Regions from separate parts of the Homo sapiens genome. Here region 2 is linked to region 1. Evidence: promoter capture Hi-C in human tissues and cell types (Jung and others, 2019). All regions are on one chromosome and are shown on one strand. Each heading gives the region's core, a stretch centred on a gene start or on the middle of the fragment in contact. The rest is flanking DNA. Distances are from core to core; before and after follow the strand shown.

Region 1 (3,423 bases), core at 454-2,953:
GTGAATGGCAAGAATTTAAAGAATAACTGTGATGCATAATTTGTATTGAACTGTTGAGAGCTAACCACAAATATTAAAATGGGCTCTGTATTTAGAGCAACTAATTATAATACTGGGAAGCAAACTGGTTTTCTTTAAAACCATCTGCACTTTATGAGCTGAAGTGACAAGCAAACCTTACAGAAAATGAAGAATCAAACTTACATTTCATTTTAATCTGGGAAAGTCACCTGGGCTTTGTTTGCAAGGAAAGACTAAATTTATCAATTATTGAGGGTAAATGAAATAGTCTCTACACTAAAAGGAAAGTTTGGTTACACAGGCCTGAAAGAAGGTGTGTAGATTAGGAACGGAATCAAGAATTTTACAGCCTTGATTTGTAAGACAGAGTAAGTTTTCTTCATCCTTTTCCATTTCAGAATTAGAAACAACCCTATATCCCTACTTTATTTGCCATCAGATGCACAATCAAATAATGTTTCTATTCACGTAGACTTGAAAGGATCTTCATCCTGTGTGGGTTATTTTATTTTATAGTAGCCAAGGGAAAGAGGTTGCTGCCAATATGATGCTAAGGGCATGCAGAATAAAGACAGTCCTGGGCAACTAAACAGTCCACCTTTGTGCTGCGCTTGTGGAAGAAAAAAGCAAACCCATCACAACTTTGGGACTTGATCAACAGTGGGGAGTCACAAAACTCTTCTCAATCTCTGCATTTTAAATCTCCACCAAAAATAGCTCCTCTGTAATGGGGCTTAAAGTCCCATCCATGGCCAGTGATGGAGTACAGTACTTAATTGTTTCTGACTAGGGTCTCTGCATCAGCACTCTGAGAGTGTCTTCTAACTTTTAATCGCCTTCTGTGCTCTTTAATTAGACCTGTTCACAAGACAGTCAAAAGAAAACGCCTATCACTAAGCTTATCCAAGACGTTGAAACATGCCATTTCAGGAGTCCAGGAACTTTTGTACAAGTCTTAGCATCTTCCAGGATTAATCTGTTTTCTCTGGTTTCCTCTTCCTTAAATCAGGCACACTTGGGGGAAGGGAGAAGCTCTATGGTTATTAAGACAACTCCAATGTAAAGACACTGCCTGGTGGCAATTCCCTCCTTGCCTATTTCCGTTCTTTATTTTGTTCTTTTACCGCGTGTTACCTTTTGGCTACTAATAGGACCGGAGGGTAAAATGTCTTTTCTCTCCTTCGGAAGAGAAAGCTTTTGATCCCTCACTGAGAGCAATCCTAAGACTTTCTCCAGGGGGCTGGGATAACTAGGAAAGGGCTCTGCTCTCTCAGAAGGATTTCAGAGCCCAAACCATACAGCGTCCCTCTTGCTTAGGCGGGAGATGCAAACAGCTGAAGTGCCTTGGCCCCCACTGGTGACCCACAGTAGGACCAACCTCGCCCCGGCAGCGCCCCTGGCCTCAGGTCACTCACGCTCCTGGACTCACCTGGTGCTGAGGACCAGCGCAGGCAGGAGAGGCAGCAGGTAGTGCGCTGGGCTGAATTTCATGCTGCTGCCTGCCGGGGTCCTCCTTCCCTCGCTGCCTTCTCTCTCTCTCTTCGGGATCCTGTCGCTCCTTGGTGCCCGGCTCTGTCCCCAGCCAGTGATGAGCGCTCTTCCGAGGCGGAAAGGCGGAGACGGGCACACGAACGGACGCCTGGGGAAGGCAGGCGCTGGGAGCGAGGAGTATCTTCAGGAGTGATGTCACCGGCGAGGCGAGCCCTGCCGGGGATTGTTCGGCGCCGCCGCTCCGGAGCCCGGAGGGCGCGCCGTCACTCGCGCTGGAGGCGGCGCGGGGAGAGGGAGGGGGCGCCTCGCGATCGCCCCGTGCGCTTCGGTCACCGGGCTGCGCTCTGGTCAGTCGGGTGAGCACTGGCCAGGGGCGGATCATTTATTCCCGCTGCTCCCCAGGATGGCGCGGGGCGGGGCACGGAGAGTAGAAACCTAATCTGCCGATAATTGAACTTGCGTACTCGGCAGGAGATGAGACCCAATTCACTGGGAGAGACTTCCAGACGCGTAGGGTCCTAGGCAGGTGTCTCTCGCCGCTTAAACCGTGTTTGGAAGAACGTCGCTCTGGAGAGAGTGTTTAGAAGATTGTTCTAATTAGAACTGCATAATGATTTGCCTGAAACAGATGGAAGGAAGCGGGAGTAAGCAGCGTCCAGAAATGCAACCTCAGCCCGTCATGGCATTGCAATCTTCTTAACCCGTGAATGTTGACTGCAAAGAACCAAAGAACGTTTCGGGACCGTTAAGACATCTGCTGCTCTGGGTTTTGAAGATTTCTGATCTTCCTCTGATTTCAGTCGTCTGTACCAGCACCTGCCAATGGGGTTGGACCTGGTGGCTCAAGTTCACACACCTGAAGGAGTCCTTTTCCTCAGGTGAAACTCATCAAGGAGACCTAGCGGACAAAAACCATTAAAATGTTAACAGTAATCAGCTCGGAATGATGGTACTGGAAGGTAGAGGTTTTGTAGGTCATTTGGTTTTCTATATTTTCAAATGTTCTATCATAAGCATCCAATATTTAATAGGCTCTATTTAGAAATTTTAATTAGAAAAATTAAATAGCACAATTATAATCCAAAACACCATTTTGCAAAAGCAATTCTGAGAAACAGAACTACTATCTCTGCTACTGAGATATTCAATTCTAGGATATTTATAAGATGATATTGCATGTGTGTGTGTGTGTGTGTGTGTGTGTGTGTGTGTGTGAGTGAGAGTGAGAGAGAGAGAGAGAGAGAGAATGAGAATTCCATCTGGATATTATCCTGGTTATATAACTGTGTATAAGGCACTTCTTCATACAGTATTTAATTTAATCTTCACAAGAGCCATCCTAGTGAAATAGACGTTAATATCACTATTATAGATATGAGCAGACTGAATATCATCAAAATCTGACTATGCATATTAAAAAAAAGAACTGGTTCTACTAAGTCCTAAGAAAAATTCCACTGTTGCCTCAAACATCACAACTAGCACTCCTAGCCCAGTGTTTGACACAAAGTTGTGTTCAGTAAAGGGTGAGGTGCACCAAAGTCCCGAAAGATAATGGACAGCTGTGTCCAGGAATTCCTATCTAGAGGTTTCAGTTCATGTTCCAATTATTTCGGGGGCAAGCTCTTTACAGAAAAATTTAGATGATACATCCTCTTCAATCTCATTTTCGAAGACATTTGTAGGAAAAATGCATTTGCTGTAAAGCTTTATTTTAAAGAGGATGCAAATCTAAAAGGTTAACCATCTAATTTACTATTTTTTTTAAATGGGATTGAAGGTTAAGACATGTATGTAAAACAGATTTGCTTCAAAATCTTGAGCTGCTGAACTAGATGAGTAATAAGTTTTGAAAAGTGAATATTAGCCCCTTGGGCAATAATAATAAGATCCACAACATTATCGATCTTG
Region 2 (3,423 bases), core at 491-2,990, 170 kb before region 1:
TAGCTTTAAAAGAAAATGAAAATGCAGTATGAAACTATATTCATTCACATTATTATCGGATTAATTACAGATAGATAGCTACATAGAAACTAATTAAAAATCAGTAGGAGAAATTTGGATTATTTTGTCAGGAATCCTAGAAAAGGTTTGTCTTTTTGAGAAAAATATAAATCTAAATACCAACTTTACATAAACTAAAATGAATACTTAATTGATTTTTCTGATGAAATAAAAGAAAATCTAAAATTTTGGGAATTAAAAAATAACATATAAGTTAATAGAGTTTCTTGTAAATTAATTAAAAACTCTGGAAGTCAAAACTGATTAGAAATTTATCAATACAGATATTTAAAAATCTGTCCCAAGATAAATATGTGTGTGTCTGTGTGTTTTCAAAAAAACAGCCTATTAGAAAGAACTCTAAGGCAGCAATTTGGCAGGTGATATAAATGCAACTAAAAGAATTGCCATTTGATGTGATAAATAAGACAGGTTCAAAACTCACATTCTGAAGTCAACCGGGCCTAAGTTTACATACTTATATAACTAATCTTTAATATTTAACTATTTGAAGCTTTATTTCATCCATAAAATGGGAATGACAACATTCTAGGGTTAACTTGTAGTGGCTGTGACTGTTATTATGACCATAGTCATCCTTACACAAGAAAAGATAAAATAATTGCCATTTAAAAAATTACTTAATGCTAATGAAAATGAAGTGACTTATCTGTGGTCACAGAGCTGTCAATACCAGAGCTGCAACTTGAGTCTTGTTTTCACTCCAAGTTCTGGTGTTGCTTCTATGAACACTATATTTTTAAGTAGAAAATAAGACTATATTAAGCAGCTTATCTAAGGAGCATTAACTAGACTACATTATACTCCTTCAGTGTAAACTTATTACATTGTTTTTACCTGAAGTTATTCATCGGAAATATATTGCCATAGTGAAATATGTTTTAGTTTTTTTTAATTCAGAATGTAGCCAGATAAACATACAATTTATTGTCATCTCTAGATGCCTAGAGTCCTACCATTAGCTATTTGAAGTGACATGTTCATAGCCAAAGATAGTTAAAGGAAATTTGATCATAAAGTAATCAATAGAAATTATATTTCTCCTCTCTTTGCTTCAGGACAGGATTTTTTAAGATTCATGACCTAAGCCAAAAGAATGCACCTTCGAAAAGTCTAGAAAGAGACCAGGTGCCTATTTTGCATCACAGTACAAAAGCACAATTCCTCAAATACCGCACGTGAACATCCTATCAAGAAAACCAATGAAGTTTAGCTACTGAAAGTTTCTATAAATTGTGCCTGCTTTAAATAATCCAAACAATGTGCTCTCTTCTCCTCCACAAATCTAAATATGTTTAAATATCTGAGAGTGACCATTTTCACAGCCCAGAACACAAAGAAGAAAAAAAAAATAGAAAAGATTCATTGGCAGTTTCCTCTAATGGTTTAAAACAATTGTAGCATTAATTGTAATCCCCAAAGGTTAGTTCTATAAAAATGCACAACTAATTTAAAAGCAAATCATTAATACCAATTAGGAAAGCATTCGGCAGGCCCAGACAGAATTTATTTTTTATTCCAGGAATAAGATAGAAAAGTACTGGGTGATAAAGTATGCTTGAGTAACACTGAATACAACTAGGCACAAGAATAATAAATAATTAATTTGGAAGACAAAAAATAATTCATTTGTAGTAAGGAACAAACTGCTCATTTCACTTCTGGATAAACCTGGGAGCACACACATTGCTTTTGCTAATTTTCTAATTTTACTGATGAGAAAGTTAAAGTAAAAAGAACATTTTTCCAATGTCACAAAGGTAGTTACTGTCAGAGCTGGGTCTTTAACTTGGTTCTTTTGATTTCCTTTTTTGGTGTTGCACCTTGCTGCCTGCCTAGTAGCAGGTTAGTAAGATTTTATTTCACTAGGTGCTTAAACCCAAACTTTCTGGTTGAAGGAAAAAGCCGTTTACTGAAAAATATAGAAATTCTAGTGCAAGTTTGACATTTTCTGCAACATTTTCAAACCTATGTTTGGAAAATGGTATGTAATAAACATTTAAATGTCCAGGAAAATCTAGTACTTACTCAGATTTTACTTGGGTAAAGCCACACTTTGATCCTTGCCTCCATTTTCTTCTAATCTACTTTTTGTATATTTCATTTCTTATGAGAGAAGTTGAGTTTCAGGATTAAACTATTTATAAATAATAGAAAGCGAGAGACGTGCAGTGTAACAGACATTTGTTTTATCTATTCCCCTTCTAGGAAAAAAGCATGTTCCTTTGTTTAGGGAAGTCACTCTTGTATGACTCTTTGCCATGTGGAAAGCTGATCATTTGGAGGATTTCATACTTTTGGCCACAATGATTCATTCAGTGATGGATACATGGTCCCAATTTGCTCAGTGTCCCAAAGTTTTTCAAGTGATAGTGGAGTAAAATGGTATTCTCTTTACAAGGGTTGCTAGTTTCTGAATATATGTTTCTAGACCTTTCAGCATGTCATTTGTCTCCACAGACAGAAAGCCACTTTGAGAATAAAACTATATGGGGAACTATCATACATGAAGAAACATGTATCAAATTCCAAGGACGTTCTTTGACCTCCTGCATCTAGCCATGCCTGAAATCCAGACATTTACCCTGGAATCTTCGATGAAACTCGTAAATTCCCTTTATGCTTCAGTGTTGGAGATTAGTTTGTTTTATTTCCAAACAAAGATTCCAGATAAGTACCAGCATGTGAAACCAGATTAAAGAAGCAAGAAAACCACACTTTTTCTGTAATAATTCAATCAAACTTTCATATGCACTATGCAATCACTTTCACTTTGCACTATGCAATAATGCAATCAAACTTGCACTGTGAACTTTTGAGGACAAGATTTTCTTTCCAGTCTGCTATAGTCTTTATTACAGCACTTACCATCCTGTGGATGATATTAGTTATTGCCAGTTTTACTGCTTTATAGTTCTCATTTCTATAAAAGTGAATTAATAAACTCCAAGAGGAAAATATCTATCATGTGAATTACCCTCATTCTTTCAATGTTTGCATTAGATAATTTATTTCTCTGAAAGGAGTCAGAAGACTTAAGTTTTGGGGGACTTTCATTGCTGAGGGGTCAATTCTGCAAAGGCAATGCAAATAGAAGCATTCTCCAAGCCCTTGCTGAATTCCAAGAGTCCATAAAATTCTGTTTACCCAGATGGTATATTTTATATTTTTGACTAAGCCTATTTATCACTTGCTATATTTGCTCATGTCCTTGGGTTTTTGGGAGTTAAATGCTCTTAGAAATCTGAATTCCAAGTCAGAAATCTCAGGAATAAACATCAGCTCTTTGAATGTACAAACTCTGCTTTCTCCCCACTCAGCTCCCCATTACACAGAGTGCAT

What was found. Contacts are between HindIII fragments. The study calls those that stand out against the background at their distance.
Region 2: a fragment that was not itself captured here is called in contact with the fragment with the promoter of LUZP2 in region 1 in 2 of the 25 tissues and cell types used here (IMR-90 fibroblasts and adrenal gland).

What each region holds. Positions count from the first base shown.
Region 1 is chr11:24,495,333-24,498,755 of GRCh38, reverse strand. LUZP2 (leucine zipper protein 2) reads right to left here and starts at 1,703. Exons shown (of 12, transcript NM_001009909.4): 1 at 1,451-1,703. The coding sequence starts at 1,512. The HindIII fragment of the contact is 10,753 bases long and covers 1-3,423 here.
Region 2 is chr11:24,667,550-24,670,972 of GRCh38, reverse strand. All of the region lies in intron 1 of LUZP2 (leucine zipper protein 2), which reads right to left. Among named protein-coding and RNA genes, the nearest start is that of LUZP2, 170 kb to the right of the region's middle. The HindIII fragment of the contact is 6,331 bases long and covers 1-3,423 here.